Regions from separate parts of the Homo sapiens genome. Here region 1 is linked to region 2. The links are contacts of gene promoters, found by promoter capture Hi-C in human tissues and cell types (Jung and others, 2019). All regions are on one chromosome and are shown on one strand. Each heading gives the region's core, a stretch centred on a gene start or on the middle of the fragment in contact. The rest is flanking DNA. Distances are from core to core; before and after follow the strand shown. Region 1 overlaps TRPC7 (transient receptor potential cation channel subfamily C member 7). Region 2 holds the start of IL9 (interleukin 9).

Region 1 (7,328 bases), core at 809-3,308, 370 kb after region 2:
GCTCTGTCGCCCAGGCTGGAGTGCGGTGGTGCAATGTCCGCTCATCGAAACCTCTGCCTTCTGGGTTCAAGCGATACTCCTGCCTTAGCCTCCTGAGTAGCTGGGATTACAGGCGCACACCACCATGCCTGGCTAAATTTTGTATTTTTAGTAGAGGCAGGGTTTCACCATGTTGATCAGGCTGGTCTCAAATTCCTGACCTCGTGATCCACCCCCTTCGGCCTTCCAAAGTGCTGGGTTTACAGGTGTGAGCCACTGTGCCTGGCCGGGTTGCTGGTTTTATAAAGTCCCTGGAAAGCTTGGTGGGTTGTCCTTCCTATACCCTTTGGATAAAACCATTCATCTCATCTTCCTTTGCCTATTTAGAGATCGAATTTAGAGAGCATTTTTCCAATTGGTCTCAGCTTAGGCATCCATAGGATGTTCTCTAGTGGTTCTACTCTTGTAGCACTCTTGGGCTATATTATTTAATTAGCACAGGCCATATGTTAGGTTACCTTTTCAAGTATTTGTTCTACTGTGATTTTGTTGATTTGACCCGAATACATTTTGACTCATTGTTTGTGAATATAAACATAATGAAAATTATACCAATATTAAAATTTTTGTTCAGAAAGCAAAATCTAAGGTGAATACCATTAAGCCAATTGAATTATTTGATCAAGTCTTGATACTGTACTAATTTTTTGTCTTTTTTATCTTCTGTTTTTCTTGTTTTACTGAAAATATTCCCATCAAATTGACATATTTTTGATGTAAATCTTAAAATTTATTGATAAGGTTTATAAACAGAGTCACTGATTTTAGTTTTTGCAATTTTTAATTTTTTCCTACTAAGACTGATTTTTTTTTAACCAACCAGTTTTGTAGTTTTCAGTGTCGGAAAAATCTATAACACATTTTGCCACGTTCAATTTTAGTCACTGCCAGTTTTATTTTGTTCTGATTATTCCTTCTAGTAATGGTTCTCATAAATTGGGTAAAAGACAGCCTTTCTTAGTTAATCAATGAGGAAATTGGGAACAATTTCCTTGGCAGCTCCAGTGGCAGACTGTGGCAGCATGAAATACCACTACAAGAGGAATTTCATAGCCTTTTAGTACACCCACTTACACAAATAACAAGAAAATGTTACTCCCGTGAATTTTTAGATGTATATTTATTATCACAATTCTACTATGAATATGAATATTTAGTGATAACAGAAATATCTTTCAAGCTATGAAATTTTGTGCCCTTTTTTAGAATCTGAACTTGTTTTCTTAAGGCTTCCAGTAGACTATATTTAAATGATCAAAATAATATGTTTCCCCATGAAACTACTTTCAATACATGTATAATGAATGTTCAATATATGTACTTAAAAAATTTCTGTCCCCCGCCGCCCCAAACATTTCCTTTCAAAATTGGAATTTGTATACAGGTCTGTGTATCTTAAAGACAGAAGTTGACTCTGACTTTCTTGTTGGTCATCCACTCACCATTTTGTCTATCAGGAGTACACTGAAGAGGAGAGGGAGAAATTCAGAAATCAGAGTTTAATAATGTCCTACTATAATTAGCAAGGAGAGAATAAAAATAGAGTGACTTGCTTACCTAAGACCCACTTCATAATGAGCATTTCTGTCCAGGAGAACTGTGTGGTTTTCACTCTGAAGATTTGTTTTGGGTAGTCTGTGAAGGTTTCGTTTGGCAGGGTTTTAACACCTTCAAATCGGTCAGATGCATTCACAACTAATAATCCCAAGAAGATTGTAAAAGAAACTGCATGAGCTACAAACTTCATGAAAGGGCTCCTCAGGGTTCGTCCTAGCTGGAAAGAAAATGTGTTCAAGACATGTTAAACTGTCTCTAGGTGGATGTAGGTCTTTCTTTATAACATCGCTTTCACCAAAGTTTAACCAGAGAATCCTTCATCTTGGACAGAAACTGCTAACTGAACCCATACAACATTTTTTCTTGAACTATTATGTGAGATGCTGCTTGACCAAACTTATTTGGTCAATATTTTCCTATTTAGAAGACTTAGTGGGAGGGCTAAGAGAAATTGATAGAACACACCTGACATAATCATCATGCTACATCTGATTGCACTGATACCTCCAACTGCATGGATATGAAAAAATAATGTCTGCATAAAGTTCACAATTTTAAAAAATGCACTTTGAGTGCTCGGTTTTTGTTTAATCTACTCACTTGGGCTTCATTCTAAGGGTATTTGTTCTCAACCTTTCTTGTATGTTGATACATTTATTTAAAGCTATACATTTCTCACTAGGTACTGCTTTAGCTGTATTCTCCTAAATTTTCACTTGTAGCATTTTCATTGACATTCTGTTATAAATATTTTATAAATTATATTGTGATTTCATTTTTAACTCAAGGATTATTTCATTTCCAGACATAGAGGACTTTTTTTCTCCCTGCTTTAAAAAATTTGAATTTTATTGCAGCATCTTTATAGAACATAGCCTCTATGATGGTATTCTAAAATTCATTGAGGTTTTCCTTTTGGCCTAGTGCCTGAAATGTCACAAGCTGGAAATGGTCCAAAAGATGCCCTATTAGGAGCAAATACTAGTCACATCTTCTTTATCTCATGGCACCCCATCCAAAGGCCACTTGGATCTTTGGGATCGAATTGAGGGCTGCACGTTGAGTACTTGCCAACCTCCTGTTAATGAACTCAGTTGGGACTCTTCCAGCTCATTGCCCTCATCTAAGCACCAAGCCCTACCCCTCATCCAGGTACAATAATAAGGCAAGAACAAAGAGGAACATCTTTTCTGAAGCTCAGTTCCTTTTCCAAGGTAGATATTCAATTATAACCAGTGACTGATTACTTGACATTCACATTCTGCCTCATTCAGGAGTCCTAGAGTGAAATGTTACCCAGGAGATAGACTGTTGGTTCAACAGAAGATCAATTACAGGGCCTTCTCTAAGTAGAATTTTCCTAGTCACATATGTTCAGCACAACATTTATAAATCAGATGGTTTGATAATGTTCTTTTAATGTGCTTCAGTATGTTAATCATCCACTTTAATTACTGTAGTTATTAGCATAACATTATTATGATTCTGATGCTATAGAACCCATTTATTAAAATAAAGTATTAGTTTTTATCTTTTTTAAAAATCTAGGTTTTAAAAAATATCCAAGCATTAGGAGTCCCTGCTTGTGTTAGAATTCATCTGCATATTGTCATATGACACTAGGAATAACTTCAGAAATATAAAGAGATGTTTATCTGACAATAGGCCCACAAATATTTTACAATAACATTTCTGTATAATGTTTATTACTTACAAAAATAGGGACTGTAGATTATTTTTGGCAATAGACAGATGTGCTAGTTATAGAATGCAGTGGCATTCTATAGGGCACTGAAGGTGATAGAGATAGAGATAAAATGTAAGGACAAATAAAACATTTTTATATAAATTCAGTAAAAAACTGAATTAAACCATGTCTCTTTTTTATTTATATGATATTAAATAGCTAGTTTGAAGTTTTTGACATTTTAGCAAATGGTGTTAGCATCTTGGAGCCCCATTTCCCAACCAGGACCTTGGGATATTTTGGCATATCCAGGAGACAGCCTTAGGTAGTCATCACATTGTTTCTTGTCACTGTGTCCTGACTGAGCTGGTGATGAGAGGTGATGGGAGATGGAGAATGACTGCAGGGAGGAGAATAGATGAGGAGAGGGGAGACTGAAGAGAGGGCAAGGGATACCAGGTCTTGTGTATCCCAGCAAGGTTTCAAGAATGTTAGAAAAAGCTGGGGAACTCTGAGATAGACACAGCTCTTAAGGGGTCCATTTTCCCCATCCTTTATCTGTGGTCTCTACCTAATATCTTCAGTGATAATCTGGATGAGGATATGGGGTATACCTCTCCAACTTCTCACCCAGGTGAGGCACCTGATTCCTGGAATTTGTATGTAGCTGCACCCAAGCTGGCTTTGAGTTTCCCCAGAAGACCTGGTTTAAGGAATTTAATATTCGTTTTGTTACCTCCTTCAAGCTGTTATCTTCTAGAAGAAGATGAATCTGCAAAACTTATTATATTTACTATAAACCATAATAAAAAGTCCTGTTAATGCCTTTTGGTGATTTGATGGAAAGTTACCCTGGGCTCAGTTCCCACTTGATCTAGGTCACAGGGAGGAAAAGTGAGGTTGGGAATTGATATTCTTTTCCTATACTTCTGGGTTTGAATGCATCTTTTTATCTGGTAAAACTTTGATAAAGGTCAAATGAGATCCAGTCATTTCAATGGTTTCCTTTTTCTTTATTTGTAAAATTCCCTATTTGACTCACACAGATAATTTTTGAAGTAAATTACCTTTGGGGAAAATTTCCTCCATTTGCAAGGCCATCAGATGAGCCAAAAGAAAGGAGAAAAGTCAACCAATATATGCTAGCAGCTCTTAGCTGCAGAATCGTTAAAGCTGGGTCAGGTATCAGCGTTAGGTGTAAAAAGAGATGAAGATGTGGGCCTTAGCCTGCTGTGCCTGGAGTGCAGAACTGAGAAGCCCAAAAAATGTGGGCTAAAGCAGTTCAGTCATTACTAGGACCTTATGAGCTGAGAACACATCAGGAAATTAAAGCTTGTAGAACTGAAGTCTCTGGCTCACCCGAAGCTTCCTGGCCACTATTCTTTGGCTCTGAGAAATATATGAATGTCAAAGCAACTGAAGAGTGCCCCTGAATTGGCTCCAAGAAAATTGCCTTCATGGACCTTTGGGGTGGGCACCTGCGTTTACTGGTCAGCACCAACTCTGTGTTCCATGCCACTGGGCTCTTAGCCCCCACAAGTGTAAGCACCTAAGCGGTACCTGGATGTGTGAGTCCCCACATCCCAGAAATATAGCCCTGTGGCTGTGATTGTGGTAGATCACTCAGAAAAGGTTTCCAGCATCTTCCTAATCTTTTATGACAGAGTCTCCTTCGCCAAATGCCACTCTCGCTTTCCACTGGGTGCCATGGTCTTAAGCAAGGGCCTGGTTTACAAGTTAGAAACTGAGTGAAAGTAAACTTGGATTAATCATTCCCAAAAGAATCATGCACAGCTTCGGGGTTGGGTGATTCTCAAATGTTAGCGAGATCCTGGTTAAATTAGAGGCAGATCCTCAAGATGCTCCCCCTGAAACTCTTATTCAAAATGTCTAACATAGGGCTCAGGATTTTTCCCTTTTATGATGGGGTGGGATAGTGGTGGTGTTACTGGGTGCCTGTAATCAGTGTTCTTACATTACAATGTCAATCTACACATTGTAACGACTTGATATTTCTCCACACATTTCAATGTGAATCCACACTTTGTCCTGGGGGCTGAAGAGGGATTTACAAAGCAGGACTCCGATGAAAGAAAAGGAAGGGACAGAGTTTGTCATCTGGTTGTTTTGACTTCTTTCTAAAAAAGTCCTACCAACTTTTAAGATCTAAATCAAGTCCATTTCAAGGTCGGTTAGTCAGCAGCTAAGATGTTTATGTTAGGCGTTGAAGGTTGTAATGGTGCTCGTGTAACTAGAGGGATGTGTGTGTGCGCGCACACGTGGGCGGTGCATTTGCATGCAGCCATTAAGTGCAGATCTCTGGAGCCAGAGACTCTAGGTTTAAACCACAGCTTCCTATATTTTTTTAAAAACAAGTTATTTAATCCCTTAGTGTTTCAGTTTCTTCTTTTATAAAATGGGGATAAAAATAGTGCCAACTGCATAGGGTCAATGTAAGCAATGCATTATTTAATACACACAACGCAGTTAGAACAGTGCCTGGTGTATGGGAAGTACTCAATATATGGCACTGGAGGGTCTCAGGGCATTCTCCTAAGTGGAATCTTAAAATAAACTTCACACAAAGGTGGACCCAAACAGAGTCCTTATGTCTTTATGCCACGAGCCTGTTCGGGATATCTCTTATAGACAGCCTGTTGTGCTATCTATATGCAACACGATGCTGGGCACTGGAGGTGAAAGAGATAAAACAAGCTGTAAGAGTTGGATCTTCCCTTCAAAGTTGCTGATTTTCTAGTGTGGAGAGACACAGGCTAAAAAGTGTGATAGGAAATAGATGGAGAGATGGGGAGAAATGTTGCAGGGCTCAGCCTGGGCTAAGTCTGGGCTAAGTCTGAAAGTGATCAGCTTCCGGCACTCTTTAATCCTATCTCAGCAGGGTGACAGGTGCTGGACTAGCCTTTTGGACTTGGGAACAGAAGCATTGGTGACATAAGAGCACCGATGCTGTATTTCCTGACACAAATTTCCTCTCCATGGCTATGCTTCAAAAATTGTGTTGTGATTTTCTTTAATCGAGTGTAGCTCTCTGGTAGAGATAAATGTGGAGAAAAAGAGGTCTCTGGAGGTGCTCTCCTCTCCTGGTTGGCCCCTGAACCACATGGTTTGAGGACCCCTTTCAAGCCATTTCAGCTTTGGTAAGGCAAAGCAGAGATCTTTCAAAGCTGCCCACTCACTCACGCCTTCCTTACTAGATATTCATGTTTGGGATGGTGAAGAGGGGGTACCAACTTTATATTTCTCCGAGCAAGGGTTATGGCAGTAAGGACTGATAGATTGCACACTACAAAGATATAAGGTTGGATTCTAAAGTTGTTTACAGTTCCTCCTGCCTGAGTCCTGGGGTAAATTTTGAAGATAATTGGAACAGTTATAGTTAACAGGTAATAGACAAGGTCAGCTTCTCCTTCCCTGTTATAATTAAAACTGGTGCAGTTCCTCAGCATTTTCATGATGCTGGCTTCTGCCACATCATATAGAGACACTGTTTGAACCTTTGAAGATGACTGTTATTTATTCTTTTGGCTCTGAGATCTTAACAGGCAAACAATCTAACTTACACATCAGAATAGGATAGCAAAGGATGGAAACAGCTTAGGCAGCTATAAAGACCCTTTGACATTGGAGTCCTTGTTGAGAGAATAAAGAACTCTTTAGGCAAACAGAGACCTAACTGCTGTGCATCCATAGGGATTAGAATTCACTGGTCTCCCAGTGGGCTGCCTGAGCTCAACTAAGTTGGTGATGACAATGAGAAATGATAAACAGAATCACTGTTCTTTCTCTTGACCCAGATGAACCTGTCCCATGCTCCAGGCCTGCATTTATCATTATACGTAGCCATCTGTGACTTGGTTATCCTCTTCAACCAACATATTAGTAAGCTGAACTTCTGTTGACACCTTTCACCTTGTAATTTCCTTATTTAACTGTCTTTCTTAGGGACCCTCAGAAACAATATAAAAATAGAATTGACAGCCTTGATAATTCAATAGGAAAGAAATGATGCAGTCATTATGGCTGG
Region 2 (7,358 bases), core at 2,956-5,455:
ACCCTTGGTATAAAGAGAATAAGAAAGGGGCAGAATGCAAACAGCAAAGGGTTTGGAAGCAGAGAGCACGAGGGGTGAATCCTTCTTCTAAATCTCACCACCTGTGGGATCTTGGGAATGCCATGCAGACTTTCTAAGCTTTGGTTTCAGTATATATAAAACAGAAATGCATAATAATAATATCTACTTCCTACCATAACTAGTGGGTTAAGCACTTAATTATTAAGCATTTATTCTGCATGCCCACATTCTTGAGCAGTCTCCCACTTCCAAGCTGCTGCCTTCTCCTCTTTCAGGCACAAGGCCAGTTTCTCAGGACCCTAGCCCTCTTAGCAGTGTCAGACATGCCTTCAGCCTCCCCTAGTGGCAACCCTCAGATGGTCCTCATAGACATTCTTTGTAACTGCTCCCTGCAGCCCTCCTGCAGCTCCAGCCACAGCCTATGAGCCTGAGGGTCTGTATTCAGCATCAGGAGTCTTATCACAGAGACTCCTACAGGAGTCTCTGATCTATTCTTCCCCTTAACAACACTTGTAGCTTTCTTTGTTCTGAGCAGCAAGAAATGAATAATTGCCAAGAGACCAGCTCATGTTGTTTTTTCCACATATGTATTTATTTCAAAATAAAGACATACAATGTTAAACAAATAATCACAACTGATACTGATTTAGAGTAGCTTACTTGATTTTTAAATTGTAGCAACTTAAAGAGAAAGCTTTTTAAATTTAATAAATAGGATAAATAATATTTCATCTTCATATCTTGCCTCTCATCCCTCTCATCTTTTCTTTCTGGAAAATTTCCAGAAGACTCTTCAGAAATGTCAGCGCGTTGCCTGCCGTGGTTTGGTTGCATGGCTGTTCACAGGAAAAATACTGTGGGGATGAAAGTTGATAAGGACAGAGTGACTCAAATGATGTAGAGCCAAGCAGCCCCAGAAGCCTACCTGCCAAGAGCCAGAGTCGGTGGTGAGGATTGTGGGGATGGGAAGGGAAGTGGCTTGAGACACAGAGCAAATAGGTGGGCAGGTCCAGGCTAGCTCATGTGGTGTAAAGACAGCATAGGTGGTTGACCTCAAATTGGATTTCAGGGGTCTTTACACACACACACACACACACACACACACACACACACACACACACACCCCTATTAAGTGGCCCTAAATCTCTGCATTAGAGAAAGCCTTTTCTGGGGACTCTTTGAGGCCTAAAATTGTATCATTATCCTTTTAGGTTGTCTTTCCAAGGTCATTTGACAGTACAATGGCTAAGAGTGGGGCTCTGAGGTCATATAGGCCTGAGTTCAAATCTCAGCTCTGCCACTTATCAAATATGCAGCCTTAGGCAAATTAGTTAACCTCACTGAGAGTAATAAATTGAATAATTGTCCCTAAGGTATGTATTTATTCAGTGAGACAGCATATATTAAGCACTTAGAACTAGATGCCATTGATGGTAGAAACGCATGCAGCTAAACAGCTGAGCTCAGGGCTTTCAGCCTTCTAGGATCTTGTGTGGAGATGCTAATACCCAAAAAACAGAGGGAGGTCACCTCTACCCAACTTGCCATCCCAGTCTGCTGTCAGGGACTAGGGTATATGCTGAAGAAAAGAATGTGTGGATGGGCATTCAGGATGAGTAGCAAGCTTCCACCTTGACCTGGGTGCATTGCCCTTTAAATACCTCCTTAATGCAGGCCAGGCATGGTGGCTCACACCTGTCATCCCAGCACTTTGGGAGGTCAAGGCGGGCAAATCACTTGAGTTCAGGAGTTGGAGAGCAACCTGGCCAACATGGTGAAACCCCATCTCTATTAAAAATACAAAAATTAGCCAGGCATGGTGGCACGCACCTGTAATGCCAGCTACTCGGGAGGCTGAGGCAGGATAATCACTTGAACCCGGGAGGCAGAGGCTGCAGTGAGCTCAGATGGCACCACTGCACTCCAGCCTGGGCAACAGAGCAAGACTCTGTCTCCAAAACAAAACAAAACCTCCTTAACCAACAGGAAAAAAAAATCCCTGTTAACAACATCCATTCAGTTAGTACATTGAATCTCTAGGATAATTTAGTATTATGTGAGCTACATCCCTGATTCTCTAGATTGTAGCTTCTAATTACACTCAGAAAGGATTCTTTCATTATTCCATAGTAGAGAGAAGTAAATGGCCTCGTCAGGAACAATGATCTATCTCACTTTAATTCTATTGTTTCAGTGGATCTCACTTTAATTATATTACTTCTGATTAAAATTCTTAGATGTCTTTTATCAACCTTGAACTACCAATTCCAACTTTATCATCCTTTTGTGTTCAAACAGGGTTGGCATCACCATTCACATAGAAATCACCAACAGGAACATATCACATATGAAAACAAACTTACTGGACACTTGTTGTTCTTTAGTACTTCAACTGATTTTTTCACCCGACTGAAAATCAGTGGGTATCTTGTTTGCATGGTGGTATTGGTCATCTGAGACAGTCTCTCACTGAAGCATGGTCTGGTGCAGTTGTCCTGGTAAATAGTAAGGATTTATTCAAAGAAATATTCTGAGGACAGCTTTGGAAATATATCACAAAGAGCAATATAATAGAGATGATTTTTATTTAATCACCATTACTCAAACTTGCATTATTTTTAGACAGGTCCCTTGCCAATGTAGGAAGTGATCTCCCGTATTTAAAGGGGATGCCATTTTTCCACAGTGACATCCCCTGGAGGAGACTTCCTGTATGTTACATCCAGGAAACATGAGGGCTCTGGGCCCTGAAATAGTCGGCTCTGAATGTTCTTTTCAACGGGTGCTTCCCGGCTTCAAGGCTTGTAAGTCTGAAAGTGCAGAGTGAGGAAAAGCCTTTTCACACCAGCTAATGGGATGTGACAATTGAATGCAGCTGGTATTTCAGCAGCAGCTAAAAACATGGACGGTACTCCAAGGGACAGGGGCTGTGCTGTCTGCCTGGTTCCTGCCCAGAAGGCACTCTATCCTCTTCTCATCTAATGGATGGACCGCGATGGGTGCGATGTCTTACCCTAGCCAGGGCAAGAAGCTCAGATTCTTCAGATTCTCCCAGGCCTTGCATGAGAAAGAATAAAGCACTGCACCTTGGAGAAGTGCCTCCTCCTCACCCTAACCAGGAGTTTGAATTAGGAATCAGAACTTTCCTGCCACCCATCCTTCCTGCCGTAGTGGGCAGTGGCCCTCTGGAAGCCCTCCTTCCACTCACAACCTCAGATCCTCTACCTGCCCAGAGGGCAGCATTCAAACCAACAGTCACTCTAATCAGCTAGACAGACAACAGGGTGGTGGGGAGGAAGGGAGGAGGCAGGGAGGGGGAGGTATAGCGCATAGATCATTCATGACAGATGAAAGATAAGGAGTTGTCATTTTATTTACATTGTTTCACAACTCTAGAGTTATCAGTAAATGAGTTAGAAAGCAATATGATATGAGCTACAGCAATTATTATATCCTTAGTTCCAGTTTTATTTAATTGTGCACATGGCCACCTATCTAAAAAGATATTCAGGATTCTTTTTTTAATGTTGAAAAGTGTTCAAACTTCTCAAGAGGCATAAAGTTAATTAAATACAAAGAAATGTTCATAATATAGGATTTCAAGATCGTAGTTTTAAAAGGGAATAATTTGTAACAATGTGGTTTTAACAGGGAATACTAATCTGTAACAATTAAATTAAGCAACAATGTATAACATTAAATATTAAATAAAGCAACTTATTTTTACTTAAAAACAAACCAAAAAAATCCAAGGTCAACATTATGTTATTTCACTATACTTACAGAGGGAATGCCCAAACAGAGACAACTGGTCACCTGCAAGGGAAATTTCAGAGTGAAGATTCCAGATGTGAAAATTAAAATTAATTTGGAAAGTTCTTAAAGAGCATTCACTCACATTAGCACTGCAGTGGCACTTGGAAGCTGGATCTTCCTAAAGTAGATAGAGAGATAAGAACCTTTAGTCAGCCCCGAGTTTTTTCATCCTCATACATATTTCACTTTGTCAGTAGCTGTCTTTCCCATGGGCTCCCCCTGCAGCCTACCTGCATCTTGTTGATGAGGAAGTTGATGTCCAGGATCCCCGCCAAGGTTGGACACCCCTGGCCTGCCACGGAGCACAGGAGCAGGGCAGAGGTAAGGACCATGGCCAGAAGCATCTTGACAGCGGACTGGAGCTCGCTTGCAGACACCTTCAAATCGAGTGGTATTTAAAGCTCCCTCTCAAACACGGAAAAACCCTGACATCAAACTGATACCAAGAGCCCACTTTTTCTCTGTAAGTTGGGGCCACTTTATACTAACAAACAAAAAAATCAAACTGAGTCACTTGACAGAGATGATGCTGTGCCAGGAAATATCATTCCTCAGAAAAGATGATTTTCAAAAAGTTGAGTACTGAAATGCTGAAGGAAAAGTTAAAGATCTAAAAACCAAGAAAAAAAATTCAAAGACAGGGATTCTGGTTGTGAGAGTTAGAATACTTTCCATGAACGCCCAGGTCTGTATTTTCCCTTTTTACATTATGGGAAATGCTGATATAATATAGCCAGTCATGGGTGTTCTAACGAAGGGGGGCCTGGGGAGACAGAGCGGGTTGGGGGAGGGTGCATGATATTGCAGAACTTCACTTATCTCTGTTGGGGTTTTCCTTTAGTAATTGCAACCTCAGTCTTACTATGCTTTATTCCCAAATCTCAATGTTTTTCATACCCAGGATGAAGTTTGCCACCTAATGCAAATGCATCTTAGAAGTATCCCTTTGTGCAAGTGTCTGAAAGAAGAAATGTTCAACTATAAGCACAAGAATGCGGCAACCATGCTTGTTAAAATTGGCCTTGAGGACTCCTCAGTATCTTTGGAGATCTTATATAACACTGTATGACATCAAGTAAAAACCCAGCACTTGAAAGAGTATAGTAGCTAACATTTACTGAGAACTTACTACATACTAGTAACATTTCTTTTTTTTTTTTTTTTTTTTTTGAGACAGAGTCTCCCTCTGTCACCAGGCTGGAGTGCGGTGGCACAATCCAGGTTCGCTGCAACCTCTGCCTCCCGGGTTCAAGCGATTCTCCTGCCTCAGCCTCCCGAGTAGCTAGAATTACAGGCACCCTCCACCACGCCCGGCTAATTTTTTGTATTTTTAGTAGAGACGAGGTTTCACTATGTTGGCCAGGCTGGTCTTGAACTCCTGACCTCGTGATCCGCCCGCCTTGGCCTCCCAAAGTTCTGGGATTACAGGCATGAGCCACTGGGCCTGACCATACTAGCAACATTTCTAAGTACTTTACATGCATTAAGCCATGTAATACACTCGGCTGCCAAATGAGGTGGGGAGTAATTTGTCATCACCATTTTTTACCCTTTAAAACACTGTCTACATCTTAGCTTCCTGGCCCTTCAGTATGGCTGTGTTTAATCACTATGAGTCAAAAAAGCAATCTCAGTGTAACTCTATGAAGTACTATAATTATTCTTATTATCTTACAGATGGAGAAACTGAGGCATAGAGAGGCAGGTAATTTGCCCAAAACCACAAAGCCAGGAAGCCGCAGAATTTGTATTCAAGCCCAGAAGTCTGCCTCCTGATTTCAGCTCTTAATCCTCCTGAACTCCTGTTTTTCTGCAGATCTTTTATCTGCCTCTCCCACCAGGATATATACTCCAGGGCTTTATGGGTCCAGTTCACCCCTATATTCTCAGCACTTAAGGAGGTGCCTGGGGAACTGTGGGCACTCACTAAATGCTTGTTGAATTAAAACACTAATTTGAAAAGTAGTTCTTGAAATACGAACTTCCTACTTCTGGGATTTATAAGATTTCAAATCTGATTTCTAGGATACATATTTGGAGGTATGTGCAGGTAAGTAAATATAGCTTCTACACAGTAGATTGAAAAGGTGAGGGGTTCTTTAGCTTAGCACTCTGAACTATAATAGCCAGTGGGGACAAACTCATAAGATTTCCTCGCCTCCACTGTAAGAGTATGGCAATACTGTTTTTTTTCATTTTGTATTGTTTCTTAGGAGTGATGATGGCTCGTCAGTGTTCCACTGCACTATGGGGAAGGGAGTGTCTTGGTGGTAAACAAGGTAAAGAGAAACAGGTGTTTTGCTAAATTCCCTTAAGCCATCCCACATCTCTGACTTCCATCCCTGCTCTTTGCAGACACTGAAGAGAAAACTCAAAGGATTCCCAGCCTGTGGCAAACACTTTTGTTACAAAGCACTGGATGTATGCCTTTTTCTTGATGGTAGAATTCTGATTAGTTTGGGGTACCAATGTATCCAGCCAAACACCCACATTTTCAGCCTCTTTTGCTGCTACATGTAGCCATGCAGCATGTTTCGATCAATGCAAAGTATGTAAAATTATTTTGCTTTCCTGGTAATAGGAGACAAAAGTGGCTGAACCCTGTCTTTCCCCTTAATTCCAATTTGGGTGTGATGGCAGGAGCTTCAGCAGCAATATTATAACTATGAAGAAATGGACAAGAGAATTACAGCAATGGCAACACTAACATTTTTCATAAATAGCAAATATTCAGAAAGGCAATAAAAAATAAAACCATGAGACTAACAAGAGAAGTAATAATAATAGTACAACAGTGATACTAAAATTCTAGCTAGCTATCACTGCCTACTGAGGATCCTGAGTTATAAAACCTGTTCTTGTTTAAAAAGAAAAGAAAAGAAAATTAGCATGCTTTGGAGAGATTTTAAAGATACATTACCATCAGACTAAACCTCCTTCCCTGACATTATTGGAAGACTTGAGAGAGATGTGAAAAGGCAATCATCTTTTCATTCTGTGAATCAATATTATCTGATGCTCTCTGTGTGAACCGTGGAAATCATTTCACCTGCCATCGGGTATGCCTTTCATATTGAGGAAAACACCACCCCACCCCTCCTGTTGTACAGATGGGGGCTTTGCCCAAGAAGAGAAAGCCACAGCTCTAGTTTCTAGCAGGGGATAGTACAGTGCAGTGGTTAAGACCGGTGACTCTAGAATCAGAATGCCTGAGTTCAAGTCCTGCCTCTATCACTTGCTAGCTCCATGGCCTTGGGGGATTGCTTGGCCTCTCCCAGCTTCCATTTCCTGACCGTAAGTGAGGATGGTGATGTGGAAAGTGGGAATGGGGATCTAGGGATGCAGTTGCAGTTGTCAGTTCTCACTCACTCGTAAGTGAGGATGGTGATGTGGAAAGTGGGAATGGGGATCTAGGGATGCAGTTGTCAGTGAAGGCTCCCCTCAGGGTACTCCCATAGAGATTAAAAGAAACAGCTGCTCCATCCCTAACTTGGTTTAAGTGGCATCCGGTTTGAAGTTTG

What was found. The method cuts DNA at HindIII sites, captures the fragments that hold promoters and counts their contacts. A contact is called where the count stands out against the background at its distance.
Region 1: a fragment that was not itself captured here is called in contact with the fragment with the promoter of IL9 in region 2 in 2 of the 25 tissues and cell types used here (IMR-90 fibroblasts and aorta).

The regions. Positions count from the first base shown.
Region 1 is chr5:136,264,624-136,271,951 of GRCh38, forward strand. TRPC7 (transient receptor potential cation channel subfamily C member 7) reads right to left here. Exons shown (of 12, transcript NM_020389.3): 5 at 1,597-1,813. All of the region lies in intron 1 of TRPC7-AS2 (TRPC7 antisense RNA 2), which reads left to right. Among named protein-coding and RNA genes, the nearest start is that of TRPC7-AS2, 42 kb to the left of the region's middle. The HindIII fragment of the contact is 5,146 bases long and covers 1-4,631 here.
Region 2 is chr5:135,891,636-135,898,993 of GRCh38, forward strand. It overlaps IL9 (interleukin 9), which reads right to left and starts at 4,206. Exons shown (of 5, transcript NM_000590.2): 1 at 4,068-4,206; 2 at 3,920-3,955; 3 at 3,805-3,837; 4 at 2,385-2,516; 5 at 611-875. The coding sequence starts at 4,181. The coding sequence ends at 756. It overlaps LOC124901074 (a long non-coding RNA gene), which reads left to right. Exons shown (of 3, transcript XR_007058947.1): 2 at 807-968; 3 at 4,063-4,513. The HindIII fragment of the contact is 9,945 bases long and covers 1,181-7,358 here.